Linked DNA regions of Homo sapiens: region 2 is linked to region 1. Evidence: promoter capture Hi-C in human tissues and cell types (Jung and others, 2019). All regions are on one chromosome and are shown on one strand. The core of a region is centred on a gene start or on the middle of the fragment in contact, and the rest is flanking DNA. Distances in the headings are between cores, read along the strand shown. Region 1 holds the start of DNLZ (DNL-type zinc finger). Region 2 overlaps FBXW5 (F-box and WD repeat domain containing 5).

Region 1 (5,076 bases), core at 1,132-3,631:
AGGCTGGGAGACAAACCCCACACACCTCGGAGGGCCCTGGGGACGTCCAGAGCGCTGTCCACCGAGGGAAGGAGGCCCAGGTGGCTCCCCCGGGAGGGGTCTGGAGCTCCTAACACACGGCCACGCCATAGCTGCTCGTCCTGCCTGGGCCAGCAGGCAGCCTGGTTTGCTCACTGTTTCGCCGACGGCCGGCGGCCGAGGACCAGGGCTCAGGTCTGCACTGGCTCACGGAAGGGAGGCCGCCAGAGCTGGCCAGGGGGGCGGCAAGGGCCTTGCAGAGGAAGGCTGAGGCTCACAGGGGTGGTGACCTGCTCAAAGTCACGCAGCGACAGCCAGGAAGGGCTCTGACGCCACATCCAGCCCCCTTTCCACGCGACTGTGGCCTCTGTGGGCAAGAGCTGGGTGACTCTGTGTAGAAGGAACTGTGGTGAGGCGAGAGGTCCTGCGGCTCCTATGTCCCACCCAGCAGCACCAGGGATTCAGAGCAATCGTTCTAACTCCAGAAAAAGAAAGGCCACGAGGGCCACAGGCCCCAGCATCTGGAAGTAATGTCTGTTTATTGATAGAAAACAGGCCACGTCCAGAGAGGCCCAGGGCCAAAACCTCCTTCTGGAAGGCCGAAGTCCCACAGTGCCGGGGAGCGCAGGAGTCAGCTCGGCTCCGTCTTGCCAGGGCTGGGGGGACCCTCATCCTCACCCGCTTCCGGAGCTGCAGTGGATGTGGGGGCCCCTGCAGCCTCCAGAACCAGTTCCAGGGCCCCCTCGCCCGCCACACGGTGCACCTGCTCGCCTCTGGCCGTCAGGATCTCTTCGATATTTCTGGGGGGCAGGGAGGCAACATGGCTCTTCAGGGCCCCCCAGCCGCCCTGCACTTCAGTCCCCTCAGGGCGCCCCATGGCCAGGCCAGAGCTGCAAGCACCAGGCCCAGCACTCCTGTGGCATCAGGCCACACGGGCACTTCAGACGCTGGCCTGTGTGCCCTCACCAGCCCTGTGTCTCTGCCGGTATGCGCCGCCTCAGGAACCCAGTCTCCTGCTCCTGCCCCCTATGTGCCAGAGGGAAGAATCTGCAGCCCCGGGTCTGATGGGAGGACAGTCCCAGCTCCAAGGGCCAGGTACCACCAAGCACCTGGCATGCTGGTCTCAGACCTGCTGTCGCTGTTACTGTCCTGCCCAGGACCTCCCGGCCAGGCAAGGCCCGGACCAGGCTCCCGGCACCACCTCCACTGCTCTCCCAGCAGCCAGGGCCCAGGCCACACCTCCTGGTCCACACCCCAAGCCTTGCTGTGGGCCAGCCACCCCAAGATGGCAGAGGGCAAAAAAGTTCCACGCTAGAGAGGGACAAGGCTGCCAGTGATGGCAGAGGGCAGGCAGAGGCAGGGAGGCAGGGCCACAGGGCTGGCAAAATTTAACAAATAAAAACGCACCCCCTACTTGGGGCATACTTAAACTCAAAAGCTATCTGGGCTTTATAGGAAATTCTCATTTAACTGTGTGTCTTGTATTGATAAGGTGGCTGGATTTCCCAGGTGAGATCTATAAACCTCAACACTAGGGCAAGGTTCCCCCAGGGAGGCCAGGGTACTTCTGGGTGGCCTTCTGGCCCAGCCCTGGGGTACAGGCCTCACCTCTTCCCATTCAGGTCCGAGAACCAGCCCAGGTTGTCAGCGATGATATGGTGGTTCTGGCAGCCGGGGCAGGTCACAATGACCACGCCTTGGTGATAGGCCAGCTTGGAGATGCGCTTGGAGGACCTAGTCCCGCAGACCTGGCTGGGACAGGGTAGCTGGTGAGGCTGTGAGGGCCGCCACGCCCCTCCCGGGAAGACCCGCCCCTCTAGGGGTAGCTCCAGCCACCTCACCCTCTCCAGAGAAGGCCCCGCCCCCGAGGGATAGCTCCACCCACCCCCAACCTCGCCCTCTCCCGGGAAGGCCCCGCCCCAGGGACGGCTCCACCCCTCCTCATGGTCCGCCTCCGCTCCCTCCCAGAAGCCCCAAGGGGTGGCTCCACTCCTTCCTGTGACTTGACCACGCCGCCTCCCGGATCCCCGGCGGGCCGCTTCTCCCCGCAGGCCGTGTAGCGTCAGATACGGGTCTGTCCCCGGTTCCGTCCCGCCGCGCGCCTACCTTGCAGGTGTAGACGAGCTGGTAGTGCGCCGCCTCCACGCGCCCCAGAGCCGCCGCGGGCCCCGGCCCCTGCTCGGAGCTTGAGCGCCGCCAGCCCCAGGCCCAGGCCCGCCGCCTCCCCGCGACCTCTGGACGGGCCCCGCGGCCCCACAGCCGCCTCAGGCAGGGCGCCCGGGGCTGCACGCGACTCAGCAACCTCGGCGCGCCGCGCAGCGCAGTCCGCAGCATCCCGCTCGCCGGCTCCGTCCGCCCTGCCCCGGCCCCGCCCCGCCGCCATCTTGGAAGTGGGCGCCGGGCGGAAGCGGCGTTCTTGGGCTTCCGTCTTCCGGGTCGGGGGCGCGCTGCGCTATGCCGCCCCCTGGCGGCCTGAGGGGGCCCTGCGTCCACGTGCAGCTCGCACCCCGAGGACACCGCGGGCCGCAGCGAGGAGGGACGGCCGCGGGGCTGCGCGCGAGTGTCCGAGCGGGAATGCGGGTCACCCGTGCTGTTTATTTACGCAGCTGTGTTTTCTAACACTAATACAATGCATGCATGTATTGTGTGTTACATGGTGAAACAGAACAGATCCTGAAGTTACACAGATGGCGTGTGCATGGGGGTGGTGAGCACCCGCATGGCCTCCGCAAAATGAGTGCCGCTTAACAAACGGCCCCAATGCCCGGCAGTCCGGCTGGGCCTTTCAGGGCACCAGATTCCTCGTTCCAGGCCAAGTCAGCGACGGCTCGGGGAAGTCTGCGCCCCAGGGCGTCGGCACCCCCGGGTGGCAGGAGGCCGGGCCGGTGGGTGTGCCCTGGTCGGGGCCTGCGCTGCTGCGGCTAGGAGCCCTCAGTGTCGGTGTTGTCGCTGCCCGTGGTGTTCTCCCGGTCCTCCTCCCCCTGCCGCCATCCTTTCTGCATCTTCCTGAGGGCGCGCTTCCTGTGAAGACAGGTGTCTCAGGCGCGACCCGGCTGCCGCTCCCCAGCCCGTTTTGGAGAAGCCTGGGGGCCGCCCGCCTACCTGCGGTAGTTCTCAAAACTCTCTTTGAGGCGCCGCCGCTCCTTCTCGGGCGGCTCCCCGCTGCTCAGGCCTGCGTCCTGGAGAAGGGGGAAGGCTCGGGCTCCGGCCGGCTCCCCTGAGGGAACCCGTCCTTCTCACCCGCCCCCCACTGGCCCCTGTAACTGCAGACTGGTTGGGAGGCGAGGAGCCCAGACAGCCTCAGCTCAGCGCCAAGCTCTCCCTGTGGGACCTGCCTGTACCCCTGGAGGTGAGCCGGTGTGGGTAGCCTGCATTTCAGATGCCAAGACACACCCAGGAGGCCAAGCCACGGCTCCAGCCTGGGGTCCGGGCCATTGTTTCTACAACAAAGCCCGAGGTGGTGCTTGCTCTCAGGACTCCTGTGTTCACCTCCTCATCCACTGTAAAGGCCCTCGGAAAACCAGGACCAGGCACATCCACGTCCAAAAAGCCCCCCAAGCTGCTGCAGTGCCCAAGAAAGGGGGATCCACTTCGCAGCCCAGACACCGCACCCCGAGCACTGTGGGCAGAGACCTTGTGGTCACTCCTCAGCTGTCGTCGGGGCCACCGCAGGGGGTGCCCAGGGCAGGGAGCCACTCTCCCTGTGATCGGTCACCCTGAGGCCCACGGCTGGGAGGACCCCACCCCGGGGAAGCCTTACATGGGGGTTCCGCAAAACCTGCTCCTGGTGCAGAGCTGCAAAGGGCTGTTTCGGGCTCCCCCCGCCGGCAAGGCAGCCTGGAAAGGAGAGTCGTGCCTGTGGGACCTGCCCATCTGCTGGGCCACGTATAGCACGGCTGCCCCACCCCTCCCCGGCATTGCAGTGGGGCTGTCTTCCAAGGCCTGGTGGGATCCCCACATGGGTCCAGTGTAGACTCTGCTTTCTGTAGATGAGACTGAGGCCTTATGGCCTCGCTTGCCTGTTCATTGCTCCAGGAGGCCGCCAGATGCCAGCCCAGGCCCAACGCTCCCGCCAGTGACCATCCCTCCCCCGAGCTGGCTGCCTGCCAGGGAGGAACGCCTCCCAGACCTCGGGGGAACTTAAACCCTGGGCCTGAGCAGCACCGTCCCCCATCACTCCAAAGCATCTGTGGGCATGGCGGCCCTGGGGAGAGAGTTGGGGACAGCTACAGTGGCTGTCTGGGTCCTCCTGAAGTGGGGGCAGGGGTACTGCAGCAATTGGGAGAGAACCTTCAGGCGGCTGGACCCCCTCAGAAACCGCCAGGACCTGGGCAGACCAGGGATCAGGACCCTTGGGCAGAAACCACGCACGTCCAGTCTCAGCCCCACTGCGGTGAGGGCCAGGCCAGGGCTGTCCTGGCCATTGGCAGCCCCTTAGAGCCAGCCCCTCCCCTGCTCACCCTCCAACCTTCACACCTGCCCCTGCTCCTGCCACAGCCACCCAGGGGGATGGGGGCAGTGCCTGAGCCGGACTCCTGGGTCCTGCTCGCCTCTGTGCCTACATGGGGGCTTGGCATCCCCATGTTCAAGTGTTCTGAGCTGCAGCCAAAGGCGCTGGTCTTCACTTCCCCGTCTGCGGCTCCTCCTTCCCCTTCCGCCTCTGCTTGGAGGCCACGGCCTGGTACTCAGGAAGCTTGTCCAACTCCGGTGCAGCCTCCCAGGACCCCTCTGCTGGGCCCTCCCCAACCCCTACCTGACAGCACCTTCAGTGCAAACACCTACCTCATCACCACTGCCCACTCCTGGACACTCGGGAGCTGCTCCCAGCTAGCCACCCAGTCCTTCCCCCAGACAGGCAGAGGGGGCCTGCCCTGCCCGCTAGAAGCCCCTGCCACTGCCTTACCCCCACTGCACCGGGACACAGCAGGCCCTTGGCCACCCCTGCATTCAGCCCTTTCCCTCAAGCCACGTGGGGCCCCATCTCGCCCCATCTTCTAGCTTCATGCACCTGGTCGTTCGCTCGTTACCACCTCCCTCTGTCCAGGAGGAAGCTTGGAG
Region 2 (5,076 bases), core at 1,094-3,593, 580 kb after region 1:
GGTCTTGATCTCCTGACCTCAAGTGATCCGCCTCGGCCTCCCAAAGTGCTAGGATTACAGGCATGAACCACCACGCCCGGCCTGACCTCAGCATATGTTTTCTGAGGACTTCTGTTCTTTTGCTAATTCAGTCACTTTCTCTTTAAACACTGGGTCTCCACCCCTGCCCCGTAGATGGGGTGGGGGCATGCATGCCGCTCCATTCCCCTCCCAGGGCTGTGTTTCTTTCGTCTCCTCTGTGCCATCTTCTGCTGCCTGGTCCTCTCGTCGAGTCTGTCTGGTCCAGCACTTTCCACATATCAAGATTTTTTTTTTTTTCTTTTCCTTTTTTGAGACAGAGTCTTGTTCTGTCGCCCAGGCTGGAGTGCAGTGGTGCAATCTCGGCTCACTGCAAGCTCCGCCTCCCAGGTTCACGCCATTCTCCTACCTCAGTCTCTCGAGTAGCTGAGACTACAGGCGTCCGCCACCGCGCCCGGCTAATTTTTTGTATTTTTAGTAGAGACAGGGTTTCACCTTGTTAGCCAGGATGGCCTCGATCTGACCTCGTGATCTGCCCACCTCGGCCTCCCAAAGTACTGGGATTACAGGCGTGAGCCACCGCGCCCGGCCTACGTATCAAGCTTTTGATGCAGTCACTCGCCCTGTCATTTTCCAGTGTCTAATTGGCTCCCTTTTTATTTTGAAATGTCCAAGTCCTCTTGATTTCTGTCCCCACTTTTGTTTTATGGTGCATAGGAATGTTTTTGTTAGTCTCCTTGAATGTGAACGTAGGTAAGTCCTTTTCAGGAAATTGCTCAATTCTTTGGAGCCTGCCCGTGGTGTGCTTGCATTTACAGAATCTGTCAGCTCCCTTCTGAGGGTGTTAGTCTCAGGGCAGCTTATCTTGTCTGGGGGTCTTTGGTGTGTCTTCCTTCCTTTCCTTGTTCTCGCCCACGTTGGGGGTTTTATTATGAACTGCAGTGGTCCCCAGGGCTTCCCAGCTGGAGACCAGGAGTTGGCAGGGCAGAGGCTCCGTCCCTCTGGGTGGCGCAGCCTCTCTCGGTGGTGCTGTCCCTGATCCCGTCGGTGCTCGAGCTCAGCCCCAGGGTCTCTACCTGCGGCCCACGTGGCTCAGGGGAACCATCACCTCGACACTCACTCGTCTCCTCTGCGTCCTTTCTCTGTACGGGGTTGCTTGCTGCCATGTTTGGAGCCACAAGCTCTGTGTGCTTCCTATAATGGGCAGCTGACCCGAGTGCCAGGCTCTACTCCTGCCATCTTCCTTGTCACCACCATCGCCCCGGGCCCCCGAGCTCCCGGTGCAGTTCCAACAAAGCCTGTGGGGTCCAGCTGGAGCTCCACCTCTGCTCCCACTTCTGGGCCCCTGGTCCCATCCTCGCCGGCCTGAACTGACTGTGGAGACCGCCCTGGCACTGGGAGCGACACGGCCTGCCGACTCTGGACCCAGCAGCCGAGGGACTCCCTCAAGGACGGGACTGTGGGGGGCCGCCCTGGCACTGGGAGTGACGCAGCCTGCCAACTCTGGACCCAGCAGCCGAGGAACTCCCTTAAGGATGGGACTGACTGTGGGGGCTGCCCTGGCACTGGGAGCGACGCAGCCTGCCGACTCTGGACCCAGCAGCTGAGGAACTCCCTCAAGGACGGGACTGACTGGGGGGGCTGCCCTGGCACTGGGAGTGACGTGGCCTACTGACCCTGGACCCAGACGGCAGGCCCTGCATGCTGCCAGCCCCGGCACATGTGCCAGGCATCTCCCTGGAGGTCATGGAGGACAGGGCAGTGTGACAAAGTCTGGCACCAGCACATGACCTCAGACGCACATGTCACCTGTCAGCAGTGACTGCAACATTCACTCCAGTAGGACCACTGTGCCAGCAATAACAGCGTCACCCGTCAGCAGTGACCATGAGGTCCACTCCACTGTGCCAGCAGTGCCCACAGTCTCCCTCCCTGCAGACAGAGACTGGACAACAATGTGCTGTTGCCAACTGTTTATTCAGGGCCCTGAACGGGTGGTGCGTGGACATGCAACACACTCGGGCCCACAGCAGCGTGACCGGCCGCTCCCAAGCCCCGGGCGCACAACCACAGCCAGGAGCAGCCCCTGCCACCACTGGGCCACCGTCCAGGGCCCCACAGGACCAGCCGAAGGTGCCCCGGGCCGAGGCCAGCTGGGTCAGGTGTACCCCTAGCCTGGGGTTGAGTGAGGAGCGGCACCCCCAGTATCCTGTGTACCCCAAGTTGCCCAGGAGGCCGAGGGGGCCTTGGGCTCCATCTGCACTGGCCACCCCGTGCCAAGCATCACAGCTGCGTGAGCAGGTTTGTGTGTGAGCGTGTGGCGGGGCCTGGTTGTCCCCTTCCTAAGGCGTAACTGCTATAAGCATCTCCACCTCTCCCGCTCGGGAAAAAGCCACAGAGCCTGGCGATGTCCTCAAGGGGTCCCGGTGGCTCCAGTGCACCCAGCACACCTCAGCGCCTCTGGCTGGCAAGCCAGGAGAAGAAGGTGCGAGGCCGTGGGCGAGGTGCCTGGAGGACGCGCATGGTGCGTGGGGAGCGCCAGGCTTTGATGGTGGCGTCGTCGCTGGCCGTGAGCAGCAGCTCCTGCTCCTGGGGACTGAAGACCACTGAGTTGACCACATCCTCGTGCCGCAGCCTGGCCAGACAGATGTTGTAGTGGCGGTCCCAGATGTAGCCGTGCCGGTCCTCCGCCCCGCTGCAGAACAGCGCCTGGGTGAGCCGGCCGCCCGCCCGCTGCTGCCCACACCCGCCCTGCACCACGCCGCGCCCTGCACCTGGCCACGAAGTCCCTGCTGACGTCCAGGAAGATGAAGAAGCACTCGTCGTTGGGCGTGTAGGCGCGGTGCGCACGCAGAGCCCGCCTCACCTCCCGCATGGTCTTGAGGTCGAACACCAGCAGGTCAATCTCCTCCGCGATTGGTGGCGGCTGCATGGGGTCGGCCACCACCGCACCGTTGGGCCAGGCGCGGCTGTTCACGTACAGGTACCTGGGCGAGGGGCACTGTGCTAGGTGTGGGCCGCCTGCGGGCACCCCGCCTGGGACACTGGCAAGAGGCCCACCTGTTGTCGGGCGACAGGCCCATGCCGATGATGTGTCCGTGTATGTCTATGACGTGGTCCAGCGCGTCGAAGAAGGCATCGGAGCCCCGGCCCTCACCCAGCACGGGCCCTGCCGTGGTCATCTGGTGTGGCAGGATCTGCTTGATGCCTGCAGGGAGGGCTACGGTGAGGGTCCCTGTCCAATGCCCCAAGGACATCACTCCAGGGCAGCTTCCTACCTCAGTGGTGTCTCTGGGGCTGTGAGCACCACAGAGGTCCGTGGGCACTGCCTGCTCCGGGGGCCCCAGACCTGAATCAGGCCCGTCGGTTGCTTGCTGGCCAGCGGCCCTGCCTGCGTTTGTTTTCACTGCTCATCCCACAGGCCCCAGGTCTGGGCTTGTGACCCCAGGGGCGAGTGAACGATCCCAGCTTTGCCTGTGGACTTGCTTGCTGTCTGCCCCTCAGGACCCCTGCCCGGCCTCCCCCAAGCTCCTAGGACCGAGGCGGGCAGCATGGCGGCAGGGGTGTACCGATCTGGTGTGGGGAGTAGGTGAGGCAGCCAGTGGTGAAGATGAGGTACTTGCTCTTGGCGCCTGTGGCACTGCGCTCGGGTGGCTTGGTGTGGCCCTGGGCCAGCAGCTCGGCCACCTTGGTCTCTAGCATGCGCTCCGACAGCTGTGGCTGCGCCCGCCCCTCCAGCACGCGGTCCAGAAAGTGCCGCAAGCCCTCCTTGGCGTGGGCGGGGGCCGGGCCAGCCACCACCTCCTCGTTGTCGCTGCCCAGGTCAAAGATGCGGCAGGGGGACGTGGCCGGGTCACCGGCTTCCAGCAGCAGGTCAGGGCTGTCGAAGCGGCTGCAGTCGGCCACCATCACCGTGCGGACGGTGCTGGCATTGAGGTTCTGGATCTTGAACAGCCGCTTCACCACGTTGACGTTCTCTGACTCCACATCCTGGGGGCGGGGGCACGTGCCAGGTGGGCGCCGGGCGCCAGGCCCCAGGAGGGCAGCCCCGCCCCTAGCCCCGCACGCACCTGGAAGGCATTGTTGAGCCACAGCACCGAGCAGGAGGTGATATCTCCGATGCGGTGCAGGTTCCCCGAGATGAGGCTGGTCTCGGTGAGCCAACAGCCAAACACGTCATAGGGCTTGTTCCGCACGCGGGACAGCAGCGCGAAGGAGTCTGTGGGGAGGCCGGGGCTGGACAGGCTGTCGGCGTGGGGCGGGGGCAGGGTCAACCCGCCGCCCGTGCTCACCTAGGCTGATGACAGCAATCTCGCCGGATGAGGAGTTGTGCGGCCCCAGGAACACCCCCGAGGCCAGCAGTAGCGAGTCGTCCTTGTTGAACTGGGAGAACTGGGTGTAGCTCCAGTTGTAGGGCCGCATGTCCGCGCTGTGCAGCAGCGAGATGGTCAGGTCGTTGCTCCAGATCTGTTCGGCAGGGGCGGCTGTAGTGATCGCCTGGCCAGGTCGCGGGGCGGGGGCCTGCTACTACACAGCCATGAGGCCCCAGCTCTGCCAGCCCTACTCAGAGGCCACCAGGGAGCAGGGACCCCTTCCAGCCACTGTCATCCACTCGGGGGGCATTGGTATAGAGCGGAGGAGCCTGCCCCTGAAGCAGGCGGCTGTGTGTGGGACCCTCTCCTCAGCACTCAGGGCCACCCTGCACCGCTCCTGATCCTCTGTGGTCCCTCCGCTGGATGCAGGGAGGCTGCTGTCACCTCTGGCCTGACCCACCCCCCCCCCCACCACCACCTGGTTGGAACGCCTGGGTCCTGGGACCTCCGTGCTGCGGCAGAGCTGGGTGGGGTGTGCAGGACACCTGGCCGTCCTCACCTTCACAGTGCAGTCCTTGGAGCAGGACGCGAACTGGTACCCGGAATGGGAGAAGCTGAGGTGCAGGACCTGGTCTGTGTGTTCCCGCAGCGTCTGCACCTCCACGCAGGGCACCGTGTCATACAGCCGCTGGAACTCCTCGTACCAGGACATGGCCGCTGCGGGTGGGCAGTTGTCAGTCCTGGG

What was found. Contacts are between HindIII fragments. The study calls those that stand out against the background at their distance.
Region 2: a contact is called between a fragment that was not itself captured here and the fragment with the promoter of DNLZ in region 1, in 1 of the 25 tissues and cell types used here (spleen).

What each region holds. Positions count from the first base shown.
Region 1 is chr9:136,361,363-136,366,438 of GRCh38, forward strand. DNLZ (DNL-type zinc finger) reads right to left here and starts at 2,382. Exons shown (of 3, transcript NM_001080849.3): 1 at 2,125-2,382; 2 at 1,627-1,766; 3 at 1-818. The coding sequence starts at 2,352. The coding sequence ends at 650. CARD9 (caspase recruitment domain family member 9) reads right to left here. Exons shown (of 13, transcript NM_052813.5): 11 at 3,779-3,855; 12 at 3,121-3,197; 13 at 2,594-3,039. The coding sequence ends at 2,940. LOC124902309 (a long non-coding RNA gene) reads left to right here and starts at 2,007. Exons shown (of 2, transcript XR_007061863.1): 1 at 2,007-2,090. RefSeq lists silencers at 1,738-2,017, 2,118-2,617, 2,648-2,747 and enhancers at 2,959-3,849, 3,850-4,739. The HindIII fragment of the contact is 10,875 bases long and covers 1-4,890 here.
Region 2 is chr9:136,938,459-136,943,534 of GRCh38, forward strand. FBXW5 (F-box and WD repeat domain containing 5) reads right to left here. Exons shown (of 9, transcript NM_018998.4): 3 at 4,891-5,048; 4 at 4,311-4,485; 5 at 4,089-4,237; 6 at 3,588-4,008; 7 at 3,079-3,226; 8 at 2,793-3,005; 9 at 1,977-2,713. The coding sequence ends at 2,470. Among named protein-coding and RNA genes, the nearest start is that of FBXW5, 3.7 kb to the right of the region's middle. RefSeq lists enhancers at 1-212, 4,693-5,076. The HindIII fragment of the contact is 5,626 bases long and covers 1-5,076 here.